2 separate regions of the Homo sapiens genome follow, and region 1 is linked to region 2. The links are contacts of gene promoters, found by promoter capture Hi-C in blood cells and fetal thymus (Javierre and others, 2016). All regions are on one chromosome and are shown on one strand. Each heading gives the region's core, a stretch centred on a gene start or on the middle of the fragment in contact. The rest is flanking DNA. Distances are from core to core; before and after follow the strand shown. Region 1 has its middle 18 kb from the start of BSDC1. Region 2 holds the start of FAM167B (family with sequence similarity 167 member B).

Region 1 (6,509 bases), core at 714-3,213, 160 kb after region 2:
CTGGGGTTCCTTCTTAGAGGAAGGAAGACTAAAGTGCAGCAACCTGTCCTTTGCTCTGGAGGGAATGTCCTGGTGTGTCTCAGACTGTGTGACTTCCAAAATTTTAATGAAATGGCAGGCTGCTATATTTTTGTTGGATTTATCTCCCACCCTTTTATACCCAATGTTTTCTACTTTTGGGGTTCTGTCAGCACGATGCCACCAAAATAGTGGAACAGCATGACAGCCTGTAGGATGGAATGACAAATACTTGGACTGACTCTTGACCTCTATGCCACCCTCCTTCTATTGGATGCATTGTAAAGTGAAATACCACATTTCCCAGAGTCCCTTGCAGCTAAGGTTCTGCTTGTGAACTAGGTTCCTTCAAGTAGGCACATCCATGTGAGATTTGGGAAAGCAGACATGAGGCAGAAGTCACCTTTCTGCAGAAGTGGCTGCTGGCAGGAAACGCCTGTTTTGAATACATTGAGTTGTTTGTTTTCTGCACTGAACTGACTGATACAGATGATGGCAGAGCCAAAATTTCTACAGACCAAATTGGGGCACAGAGCAGAAGTGTTGGATTTTCTTTGAGTAAAGATTATAAAGCAAATTGCTTTTTTTTTTTTTTTTTTGAGAGGGAGTCTCACTCTGTCACCCAAGCTGGAGTGGAGTGGCACACATGATCTTGGCTCACTGAAACTTCTGCCAGCCTCAGCCTCCCAAAGTGCTAGGATTACAGGTGTGAGCCACCATGCCTGGCCATAAAGCAAATTGCTGCTGCTTCTTTTTTTTTTTTTTTTTTCCATTGAGATGGAGTTTCGGTCTGTCATTCAGGCTGGAGTGCAATGGCGCGATCTTGGCTCACTGCAACCTCCACCTCCAGGGTTCAAGCAATTCCCCTGCCTCAGCCTCCCAAGTAGATGGGATTACAGGCACCCGCCACCATGCCTGGCTAATTTTTTGTATTTTTAGTAGAAACAAGGTTTCACCATGTTGGCCAGGCTGGTCTCGAACTACTGGCCTCAAATGATCCACCTGCCTTAGCCTCCCAAAGTGCTGGGATTACAAGCATGAGGCACCATGCCTGGCCACAAATTGCTTCTTATATCCTCTGTTATATTGGAGAAAAATGCATTTGCTTGATCAAATTCTGGGAGTCGTACTGATGTACTCCCCCAAAAGCCACATCTGAAATAGCAGTGGCAACTGAGGCTGCCATTTGATTCAGTTTTCAATATTCCTCCACCTTCTTGAAGACCATCTGTCTCTTTATCTAAACTGAAGACATGGATATGGATGTGACAGAAGTCACCGCCTCTGCATATCTGAGGTCTTTGATGGTGGCATTAAACTTTGCAATGCTTTCAGGATTTTTTATTTTATTTTTATTTAAAAAATTCTTTTAGTTGCTCTCAGCATACCAGAATTTTTTATTTTAATTTACATTTTGGTGGGAATGAAAAACTTTGATGAGTTCTACTTTGTTTTTCTTTTTTGAGATAGAGTCTCACTCTGTCACCCAGGCTGGAGTGCAGTGGCATGATCTCAGCTTACTGCAACCTCTGCCTCCCAGGTTCAAGCAATTCCCCTGCTTCGGCCTCCTGAGTAGCTGGGATTACAGGCGTGCACCACCATGCCCAGCTAATTTTTGTATTTTTAGTAGAGACAGGGTTTTACCATGCTGCCCATGCTGGTTTCAAATTCCTGGCCTCAAGCGATCTGCCAGCCTCAGCCTCTTAAAGTGTTGAGAGTTTACAGGCATGAGCCACTACATCCAGCTTGTTTTATTTATTTATTTAGAGGCAGAGTTTCACTCTCTCACTCAGGCTGAAGTACAGTGGTGTGATCTCAGCTCACTGCAATCTCTGCCCCTGGGTTCAAGCAATTCTCCTGCCTCAGCCTCCCGAGTAGCTTGGATTACGGGCACCTGCCACTTGGCTAATATTTGTATTTTTAGTAGAGATGGGGTTGCCCCATGTTGGCCAGGCTGGTCTCGAACTCCTGACCCCAGGTGATCTGCCTGCTTCAGCCTCCCAAAGTGCTAAGATTACAGGCATGAGCCACCACGCCCAGCCTGTTCTTCTTATAATAAAAGCTATTAACCTATTCTTATAATAAACCTATTCTATTTAACCTATGTTAAGTTATATAATAACCTATTCTTATAATAAAAGCTATTAACCTATGGTCAGTAGGCTAATGCAGGTTTCTGCCAGTATTTTAGGAAATTCCTTACAGTTATACAAACAAGGACAAAACTATCAGTTTTGGGGACTAGATCCACCCTAAAGTGGACTTTGGTCAAAACTCCATTTGTCACCTAAATCCCCATGCCTCCTGTTGTCTCTTGGTACTTAGCCTCTCAGTTGACCATCTGCCATCTGCCCTGTACTGCCAGAGCTAGACACCAGCCAACAACACTTCCCAGACTCCACTGCTAGCTGGGTCCCAGTTACATTGTGCCAATGGGAGGTGCTTGGTTATATTTGAAGGTGAGAAGAAGGGAGAAATTCTTAGGCTTTAGGAGGTGACTTACCTTTAGCAGTGGTGGCTCTTCCAGCACTGTCAGTAGTGAAAGTGGGGTTGTTGGCTTCACCCCCAGGGTGGTTTCCTGGGCTCTGGAAAATGTCACATTTTACTCTTAGCTCCTTTGGCATTTCCAACATCTTTGTAAGCAAGTCCCTGCATTATATACATTTCTGCTTGAAATATGTTGAATGTTCTCTGTTTTTCTTATCAACACTTAATCATACATTTCCATAAGCCCATACTCTGACTGCTGAAGCCCAGAGGCATTGTGGGTCTCCAGGAATCTGTGGTTAGTTGTCTGATTGTCCCCAAGAGGTTTGTGTATTTATCCGTTGGGAAAGAACAGGAAAAAATGTTCATAGTATGAACTTGTGTTGCTGTTGCTGGATCTTTCCTTAAGCATCCTATACTCTTCCTTTAATCAATGGTCTGTGCACCTGTGAATTGATTCATGTATGGGAATTGCGTGAAAGATGAAAACTGTCTATTGTGTCAAAATAGACCTCTGTTTACTGGACAAGGAGGTATTTTTGTTGTTTGTCTTGATATAAAAACTAAGTGGGAGGCCATGTGTGGTGGCTCATGCCTGTAATCCTAGCACTTTGGGAAGCCAAGGCAGGTGGATCGCTTGAGGTCAGGAGTTCAAGACCAGCCTGGCCAACAAGGTGAAACCCCATCTCTACCAAAAATACAAAAAATTAGCCAGGTGTGTTGGCACATGACTGTAATGCCAGTTACTCGGGAGGCTGAGGCAGGAGAATCGCCTGATCCCAGGAGATGGAGGTTGCAGTGAGCCAAGATTGCACCACTGCACTCAAGCCTGGGTGACAGAGCAAGACTCTGACTCAAAAAACAAAAGAAAACATTAAGTGGGAGTTGGGCACGGTGGCTCATGCCTGTAATCTCAGCACTTTGGGAGGCTGAGGTGAGTGGATTGCTTGAGCCCAGGAGCTCGAGACCAGCTTGGGCAACACAGTGAAATCCCATCTCTACAAAAAGTACAAAAATTTGCCAGGGATGATGGTGCGTGCCTGTAGTCCCAACTACTTGGGAGGCTGATATGGGAGGATCACTTGAGCTCGGGAGGTTGAGGCTGTAATGAGTGAGCCATGATTGCACCACTGCATTCCCGCCTAGGTGACAGAGTGAGACCCTGTCTCAAAAAAAATAAAAAAGTGGGAACTTGGTAGGCCGTTCATAAGCAGTTGTTTCCAAAGATTTCTGTAGGTCTCACCACTCTGTTTTCATGTCAACCCTGTTGCTTACTGGTAACCCTTCCTCCTTTGTATTTGATGGGTAACTGTTGATACAGGAGTTAAGAAGAAATTACTTAGGCAGATAGTAAGGGGATGGGAGTCCTTGGTAAGTCTTCTCTTTTTAATGAAAAGCAGCCCCAAATCATTTTCTAACAAAGAGCAGCCTGAAAGCTGGGCGCTTGCACAGGTGAATGCAGGCAGGAACTAAGGACTAGACATGTTCAAGATGATGGCTCCATCCTCCCTTTTCTGCCAGCCATGGGTACTGTAAAGGAGTGGATAAGATAGTGCTGATCAACTGGAAAGTCCATTTGCATAAGAAGATTAAGGTGAGGTGACCAGTCTTCCCTGTGCCCTATGTAAACCCATACCTGATCGAACCAATCTGTGAGCCCTACATAAATCAGACACCACGACCTCAAACTGTATATAAAACTCAGCTTATTTGCCACCAGCCAGTCCTTTTCCACTTGGTCATTTTCTGCTAGGTTCCTTCTGCTTGGAGACCCCTTCCTCTGTGCAGGAAGCTGTTTCTCTCTCTTTTCTTCTACCTATTAAACTTCTGCTCCTAAACTCCTTGTGTTTGTCTGTGTCCTAAATTTTTTGGCCCACAACAAAGAACCCAAGGGTATATACCCCAGAAAACGAAGCTGCTTCATAATGGGGGCCTGTCTGGGATACCAAAGTACAACATTCATCGAAACAGTGAGTAAAGGAGTGGACTCCAACTCTGTCTTTTCATTCTGAGGCTCTCAGTCTCCATTTTAGACCTTTCTTGAAGGACAGCCATGGTGTGGCGCTGGAAGAAGTCCTGAGGCAACTGAGGGCTTCTGGCTGGGGCTACCCCCCGGTGTTATCCAAAGGCTTCTGGACTGACCCCTGCTTCCAACCACCCCAGTGGGGTGTCGGCACCAGGATCTCCAACTTTCCTTCATAATTTCCTCCTTCCTTGACCACATTTGTCATATCTCTTATCCTCTCTGTGTATGCAGTGTGCAGGAAGTTTTACACTTCAGGGAAGTAATCTTGTTTGGCAAGATCAGGGAATGTCATAGTAACTGGGGATATAGCTCAGGGGAAGGTGTCTTTGTGATTTTCTAGGAACAGAGGGTTCCTCCCCAACAGTGAGCATGTGTCTCTGCGCTTGGTCTGGCGAGCACGGCATTTCCAGGTCTCTCTCTGTCCTTGGTCTGGAGAACATATGGCATGTCAATGTCACTCTGTCCTTGGTCTAGAGAGCACATGGCGTTTCAAGGTAAACAGCGCCACCTAGTGGAATAGGGATCCTCTCCATGAGGCACATTGTCCTTCACTGAAACACCCTAGCCTCCCAATTCTCTCCCCTTTTTGTGCCTCTCTACTAAAAACCAGGCTTCACGCTACTTCTGTAAATGGGAAAACTCTGCCTTCAACAATTAGGGGTAAAATATCCTCCAAAACCAAATTTTAGTGTCAATACTGTCCCATCAACAGTAAAAGGGCCATTCAATACCTACATTCTTTTAAGGCACCTATTCTGCCTCCAATTAGAGTGGTACTTAATTGGTAAGGGGATTTTAAGTTCAGAAGTTAACGAGAACCATTCTCTAAGGGTAAACGCTTCAGTATGGGCCATAATAGCAGGATATAGAGTTCAATTTAGCACTCCCACTCCATTAAAGGGTCCTTGCCCAACTATTACATAGCTTTTCTTGGGATCCAATTTTTGGGGAGCCAGGTAGATCACACAAATCCAGGAAGTCAAAGGGAAATCACAGGCAGAGGACTAGAGTCACTTGGGTGAGCGTGACTAGCCCCAATCGCTTAGTTCTTCTGGTTCCATGGCTGGAGGTCACGCCTGCAACCATGGGTGGCATGTTCAACAAGGTGCTGGGACCAAGGAACCACGGAGGGAAAACATCAGGGGGACACCCCCACTGTCTTCGTCTCCACCCTGGGTCACACCAAAAGGAAGGAGACTAAAAGGATGCCTTTTTCTCACTTCTCTTTCTAGATGGGTACCATCTTCAGCCTGCACTCCCCTGGAATGCATTCTGAAGCACTGGGACTCCTTTCACCCTGAAACTTTAAAGAAAAAGTGGCTCATTTTCTTTTGCACAAGGGCATGGCCTTTTTATTAGACCTTTGCAAGTGTTACAAAATTAACCCAGCCCTTTTAGCAATCACATTTGGCATGACCAAAGAGAATAATGCCCCCAAATTAGAGAAGCAACTTCTGGGGGATCCATCTGAGGATCTCCCTTATTTGGGGCCCTTTCAAGTTCCCTTCTCATTACAGGACCTTAGGCAAATAAAGAGAGACTTAGGCCAATTTTCTGACAACCCCAATAGGTATATAGAAGCTTTCCAAAATGTAACTTAGGTATTTGACCTCTCATGGAGGGGTGTTATGCTTCTCCTAAGCCAAACCCTAACCACAGCTGAGAGCCAGCCAGCTCTGTAGGCAGCAGAGAAATTTGGAGATGAGGAATATGTCTCCCATAGTAGGCCTAAAAGGAAAAGAGAAAATACGAAAGGCAAAAAAAAAAAAAACGGGAAACACCATTCCCAATAGGAAGAGAGGAAATACCTCTTGACAACCCTAACTGGAACACCCAGACTTTTCTACAGTGTTTTTCCTTCTTTCACAGTTTATTTATTTTTATTATTTGTTATTTATTTTTTTTGAGATTGAGTTTCACTCTTGTTGCCCAGGCTGGAGTGAAGTGGCGTGATCTCAGCTCACTGCAACCTCTGCCT
Region 2 (7,081 bases), core at 3,375-5,874:
TTGGTCCACCTTAAATGCTGCAGCTGTGTAGCTGGCGTCCCTCCTCGACCTCGCAGCTGGAAGTCCCTGCCTGAGGGCGCCCTCTGTGCAGCCCACTTCTGGCTGAGTCCAGACCTCAAGAACCCCATCAGCTATCCACCATCGTTTCAGCAAGTGTGTATTACCTGTACAGTGAGTTAGCTGGGCCCTGTGTTTGGTGCTGGGGCCCAGGGATGACTGGGGAAGATTCTGTTCACAGGGTTTTCAGTCTGGCAAGAGACACAATTAAGCTGGTAAAATTGCAGGACGAGAGCTGAGCTGATTTACCACAGGACCCATCTATTCATCCATCCGTCTTCTTTTTCTTTTGTAAATATTTTTGTGGAGATGGGGGTCTCCCTGTTTTGCCCAGGCTGGTCTTCAACTCCAAGCCTCAAGCAATGCTCCTGCTGCATGGCCTCCCAAAGTGCTGGGATTACAGGCATGAGCCACCATGCCCAGCTTATTTTATTTATTTATTTATTTATTTATTTTCTTTCTTTCTTTTTAATTGAGAATAAAGGAATAGGGCTGGGTGCGGTGGCTTACCCCTGTAATCCCAACCCTTTGGGAGGCTGAGGTGGGTGGATACCTTGAGGCCAGAAGTTCAAGAACAGCCTGGCCAACATGGCTAAATCTGGTCTCTACTAAAAATACAAAAATTAGCCAGGCATGGTGGTATGTGCTTGTAGTCCCAGCTACTCGGGAAGCTGAGGCAGGAGAGTCCCTTGAACCCGAGAAACGGAGGCTGCAGTGAGCTGAGATCGCACCACTGCACTCTAGCCTGGGCAACAGAGCAAGACTCTGCCTCAAAAAAAAAAAAAAAAAAAAAAGCCAAGCGAGTTGGCTCACTCCTGTAATCCCAGCACTTTGGGAGTCCAAGGCAGGCGGATCACTTGAGGTCAGGAGTTCAAGACCAGCGTGGCCAATATGGTGAAACCCTGTCTCTACTAAAAATAGAAAAATTTGTCAGGCATGGTGGCTCGCACCTGTAGTCCTAGCTACTTGGGAGGCTGAGGCAGGAGAATTGCTTGAACCCAGGAGGTGGATGTTGCAGTGAGCTGAGATCACGCCACTGCACTCTAGCTTGGGCAATAGAGTGAGACTTGTATCAAAAAAAAAAAAAAAAAGAAAAGAAAAAAGAAAGAAAAAGAATAGAGGAATAGGGAGAGGAGTGGTGGCTCATGGCCATAATCCTAGCACTTTGGGAGACCGAGGCAGGAGGATCACTTGAGCCCAGGAGTTTGAGACCAGCCTGGGCAACATGGTGAAACCCCAACTCTACCAAAAACACAAAAAATTAGCCAGGTGTGGCATGGGCCTGTGGTCCCAGCTACTTGGGAGGCTGAGGTGGGAGGATCACTTGAGCCTGGGAGGTGGGGGTTGCAGTGAGCTGAGATTGCACCACTGCACTCCAGCTTGGGTGACAGAGTGAGACCCCGTCTCATTAAAAAAAAAAAAAAAAAAAAAAGAGGCCGGGCACGGTGGCTCACACCTGTAATCCCAGCACTTTGGGAGGCCAAGAAGAGCGGATCACGAGGTCAAGAGATCAAGACCATCCTGGCTGACACGGTGAAACCCTGTCTCTACTAAAAATACAAAAAAATTAGCGGGGCATGGTGGCAGGCACCTGTAGTCCCAGCTACTTGGGAGGCTGAGGCAGGAGAATGGCATGAACCCAGGAGGTGGAGCTTGCAGTAAGCCTAGATTGCACCACTGCACTCCAGCCTGGGCGACAAAGTGAGACTCCGTCTCAAAAAAATAAAAAAGAAAAGAATAGGCTGGGCGCAGTGGCTCACGCCTGTAATCCCAGCACTTTGGGAGGCTGAGGTGGGTGGATCACTTGAGGTCAGGAGTTCGAAACCAGCCTGGCCAACATGGCGAAACCCCGTCTCTACTAAAATATACAAAAATTAGTGGTGGCAGGCAACTTAATCCCAGCTACTTGGGAGGCAGAGGCAGGAGAATCTTTTGAACCCGGGAGGCGGAGGTTGCAATGAGCCGAGATTGAGCCATTGCACTCAAACCTGGGGGATGAGTGAGACTTCTCTCAAAAAAAAAAAAAAAAAAAAAAGAGAAGAAAAGAAAAAAAGAATAAAGGAATAAAACAATGGTACTTCATAGATACAGAAGCCTTTTTTTAATTTTTTATTTTGAGACAGGTCGGCCTCTGTCACCCAGGCCTGGAGTGTAGTGATGTGATCAGGGCTCACTGCAGCAGCTTTGCCCTTCTGGGCTCAAGCAATCCTTCCATCTCAGTCTCCCAGGTAGTTGGGCACAGGCATGTGCCACCATGCCCTAATTTTTTTTTCTTTCTCATCCTCTTTCAATCCTGTTATTTATTTATTTATTTTTTTGAGACGGAGTCTCGATCTCCTGACCTCGTGATCCGCCCGCCTCGGCCTCCCAAAGTGCTGGGATTACAGGCGTGAGCCACCGCGCCCGGCGAGACGGAGTCTCACTCTGTTGCCCAGGCTGGAGTGCAGTGGCGCAATCTCGGCTCACTGCAAGCTCCGCCTCCCGGGTTCACGCCATTCTCCTGCCTCAGCCTCCCAAGTAGCTGGGACTACAGGTGCCTGCCACCATGCCCAGCTAATTTTTTTGTATTTTTTTAGTAGAGATGGGGTTTCACCATGTTAGCCAGGATGGTCTCGATCTCCTGACCTCGTGATCCACCCACCTTGGCCTCCCAAAGTGCTGGGATTACAGGCGTGAACCACCGCGCCTGGCTGAGTTCAAAACCATTATGAGCAACAGAGGAAGACCTCATCTCTATCAAAAACTTAAAAAAAAAAAAAATTAGCTGGGTGTGGGGTCTTGGCCCTGTAAGTCCCAGCTACTGAGGAGGTCAAGCAAGAGAATCACCTGAGTCCAAGAGTTCAAGGTTGCAGTGAGCTGTAATCCCACCACTGCACTCCAGCCTGGCAACAAAGCAAGACCCTGTCTCGAAAAAAAAAAAAAGCATAAATTGTAAAATTCCAGACCAGCAGCAGCAGCTGGGATGGGAATTTGGTAGAAATGCAGATTACCAGGCCCCACCCCATACATACTGAATCTGAAACTCTGGGTGGTGGGGCCTAGCCATCTTAGCAAGCTTTCTAGGTGATTCTGATGCATGCTAAAGTTTGTGAACCACTAGAAGGCATATAAACAGAGAAAACTATGCTGTTAGAATGAGGGTGGTGTTACCCTTAGATTAGTGACAGGCCAGGAGCACATGGGAGGCTAACAGCGGTTCCTGGGTGCTGGTAATACTCTGTTGCTTGATCTGGGTGCTGGTTACATGGATGTGTTCAGTTTGGGAGAATTCATCGAGCCATACATTCATTTATTTACTTATTTACTTATTTTTTGAGATGGAGTTTCGCTCTTTTTGCCCAGGCTAGAGTGCAGTGGTGTGATCTTGGCTCACTGCAACCTCCGCCTCCAGGCTCCAGTGATTCTCCTGCCTCATCCTCCTGGGTAGCTGGGATTACAGGCATGCACCACCACGCCCAGCTCATTTTGTATTTTTAGTAGAGATAGGGTTTCACCATGTTGGCCAGGCTGGTCTTAAACTCCTGACCTCAGGTGATCTGCCCGCCTCAGCCTCCCAAAATGTTGGGATTACAGGCGTGAGCCACCGTGTCTCCATGCATTTATGATATGTACAGTTTTTCTGTGTGTATGTTACACTTCTTTCCCCTTCCTTCCTTCCTTCCTTCCTTCCTCCCTCCCTCCCTTCTCTCTCTCTCTCTCTCTCTTTCCTTCTTTCTTTCTTTTGACAGAGTCTTGCTTTGTCACCCAGGCTGGAATGCAATGGCTCGATCTCGGCTCACTGCAACCTCTGCCTCCCGGGTTCAAGCGATTCTCTTGCCTCAGCCTCCCAAGTAGCTGGGACTACAGATGCATGCTACCACACTCGGCTAATTTTTTGTATTTTTAGTAGAGACGGGGTTTCACCGTGTTAGCCAGGATGGTCTTAAACTCCTGACTTCGTGATCCGCCCACCTCGGCTTCCCAAAGTGCAGGGATTACAGGCGTGAGCCACTGCACCTGTCCTTCTGTGTGTATGTTATGTTTGAAAACAAAGTTTAAAAAAGGGAACTGCTCTGGTTGAAGCCCTGGGAGGGGCAGGGAGATGGAAGGCAAGGAGCCCATCCACAGCTCTGTCCTTCTCCTGCAGGCAGCCCTTGAGGGCTCCTTAGAGTATTAGCTTGAAATCCTTCATCTGTCCCAACAGAGCTCTGAGAAGGTCAGTGACTTGCCCAAGGTTCTGCAGAGCCAGCACTAGAACTCAGGTCTCCTGACTCCCAGGCCAGGGCCCTGGAGGCTAGTCCTTTCCTGAAGGGCTGGTGTCACGAGTAAGGACAAGGGGTGGCTAGGCAGCCTCCTTCCTGATCTCAGCTCCCTTAACATGAGTCTTGGGAGGAGGGCCAAGACTCTGGTATGAATGATGCTTTTCTCATCCTGGAGCAACTTCCTTTCTGGGAATTGGGTGTCTCCTTCTGGGCAAAGACAATAAAATTCATCCAAAGGGCCAGAGGAGCAGGGTTCCTCCGGCCCCCACCCAGATGGGCATCACGTGGCTCCCAAGTTAGCAGTCCAGGAAAATTCCAGCCCTTGCATACTTGGCCTCACACACCCATCTGCTCACTCACCCTGGCACATTCAGCCCCCCTAACCCACCTTGAACATTGACCACCACACACTCCCTGGCACGCTCTTCTCACCCTCAACTTCTGCCACCTCTCCCTGGGCAATACTGCCAGCCTTTCCCTAATCTCAGAGCTGCAGCCCTGCCCTGTCACTCACCTCAAACCTGCCATGTCCCTGGGGCTACTGAAATTCCAGGCAGTGGGTGAAGAGGACGAGGAGGATGAGGAGGGGGAGAGCCTGGACTCTGTGAAGGCACTGACAGCCAAGCTGCAGCTGCAGACTCGGCGGCCCTCATATCTGGAGTGGACAGCCCAGGTCCAGAGCCAGGCCTGGCGCAGGGCCCAAGCCAAACCTGGACCAGGGGGACCTGGGGACATCTGTGGTTTCGACTCAATGGACTCCGCCCTTGAGTGGCTCCGACGGGAGCTGGTGAGTCTGGTGGGGTGGGCAGCTTTGCCCAGGGCCTTCAGGCTGGTCCTCCTTAGGGTCCAAGACCACAGGCATGGGGAAGGGATGAGAATGGACCCTGCCTCCAGCAACCGCCCGCTCCGGTGTCCTGGGCTGAGGAGCCGGGAATGGACTTGTCCAGTGTTGTATTCAGGGAGGCTTGCTGAAGAAGGATTCCATCCAATCTACTGACCTTGTGCTCCTGTTGCTTAGGGGACAGAGCACTGGTGTTGGGGGGTGTGGGGCACCATTATAAATAGGGAAATACACAGCCTCCCCTACTCTGGGACTTTCTATGGCCTAAAGATACAGCGAAGTGCAAAAGGAGGCACTGGCCATGCTGCAGGCAGATTCTGAAGAGGTGAAGTTTCAGTAGGTGGCTCCCAACTCAACATGTGCAAATATAAAGATACCCAGGCTCCAACACAGAGATTCTGCTTAGTTGATTTGGGATGGGGCCCAGGCAGTTGGATTTGCTTAATAATGACTCCTTAGCTGGGTTTGAGAACCACCAGGTGAAGCCAGATTGGGAGATAGGGAGAGATCAAGCTGAGGTGAGAGGGGGCTGGGGAGGACACAGTCAGTGCAAAGGCCCAGCGTTGCCAGGAAGGGAGAAACGGCGCGCGGCCGAGGGCCTGTCCAGTAGGCTCACGCCCCCTCTCGGCCGCAGCGGGAGATGCAGGCGCAGGACAGGCAGCTGGCAGGGCAGCTGCTGCGGCTGCGGGCCCAGCTGCACCGACTGAAGATGGACCAAGCCTGTCACCTGCACCAGGAGCTGCTGGATGAGGCCGAGCTGGAGCTGGAGCTGGAGCCCGGGGCCGGCCTAGCCCTGGCCCCGCTGCTGCGGCACCTGGGCCTCACGCGCATGAACATCAGCGCCCGGCGCTTCACCCTCTGCTGAGGAACACCTGTGCCCCCCGACTCCCCGCCCCCTCTCCCAATGCCGCTTCCCCTGCCTGCCTGGGAAGAGGAAAGGGAGGGGTGCCCCAGAGGCACCAGCTCCTGGCGGGGGAGGAGGAACATTCAGGTTTCTGAGAGCTGAATTCCAAGAGTGCAAAACCCCAGCATCCTGTTTCCTCTGCTGACCCAGCTGGGAGGGGGAGGAGGAGGAGCTCACACCCTCAAACTCCTCAATAAACGCTTTCTCTGGTTCCCATCAAGGTCTCTTGCAGTCGTTTATTCAGGCCCAAGGCCGCTATCTGAATGTCGCCTGTCACTGGGACCACCCTAGTTCACTGCAGGCCCATGGGAGGTGACTTAGGTAAATTGGGCTCCTGAAGAATGCAGAATCTGAGAGACATGGGTTCAAAGCCAGCTACCCCGTTTATTTCTTTTTGTTGTTGTTATTTCTTCTGCTTCTTTTTTTTTTTTTTTTTTTGAGGCAGAGTCTCACTCTGTCACCCAGGCTGGAATGCAGTAGCACAATCTCAGCTCACTGCAACCTCCGCCTCCGGGGATCAAGCGATTCTCCTGCCTCAGCCTCCCAAGTAGCTGGGATTACAGGCGGCCACCACCTCGCCTGGCTAATTTCCTTTCTTTTCTTTTCTTTTTTTTTCTTTTTTTTGAGATGGAATTTCACTCTTTCGCCCAGGCTGGAGTAGTGGCGCGATCTTGGCTCACTGCAACCTCCACCTTCTGATTTCAAGCGATTCTCCTGCCTCAGCCTCCCAAGTAGCTGGGATTACAGGTGGCCACCACCTCGCCTAGCTAATTTCCTTTCTTTTCTTTTCTTTTTTTTTTCTTTTTTTTGAGATGGAATTTCACTCTTTCGCCCAGGCTGGAGTAGTGGCGCGATCTTGGCTCACTGCAACCTCCACCTTCCGATTTCAAGCGATTCTCCTGCCTCAGCCTCCCGAGTAGCTGGGATTATAGGCACCCGCCACCATGCCCGGCTAATTTTTGTATTTTTAATAGAGACAGGGTTTCAGCATGTTGGCCAGGCTGGTCTCAAACTCCTGACCTCAAGTGATCCACCTGC

Evidence for each region. Contacts are between HindIII fragments. The CHiCAGO score rates a contact against its expected background, and 5 or more counts as called.
Region 1: a fragment that was not itself captured here is called in contact with the fragment with the promoter of FAM167B in region 2 in 2 of 17 cell types (total CD8 T cells and naive CD8 T cells); the score reaches 5.7 in total CD8 T cells.

What each region holds. Positions count from the first base shown.
Region 1 is chr1:32,409,100-32,415,608 of GRCh38, forward strand. No RefSeq gene overlaps it. Among named protein-coding and RNA genes, the nearest start is that of BSDC1, 18 kb to the left of the region's middle. The HindIII fragment of the contact is 8,294 bases long and covers 1-6,110 here.
Region 2 is chr1:32,242,598-32,249,678 of GRCh38, forward strand. FAM167B (family with sequence similarity 167 member B) reads left to right here and starts at 4,625. Exons shown (of 2, transcript NM_032648.3): 1 at 4,625-5,085; 2 at 5,774-6,259. The coding sequence starts at 4,825. The coding sequence ends at 6,004. RefSeq lists an enhancer at 5,883-6,042. The HindIII fragment of the contact is 5,457 bases long and covers 3,111-7,081 here.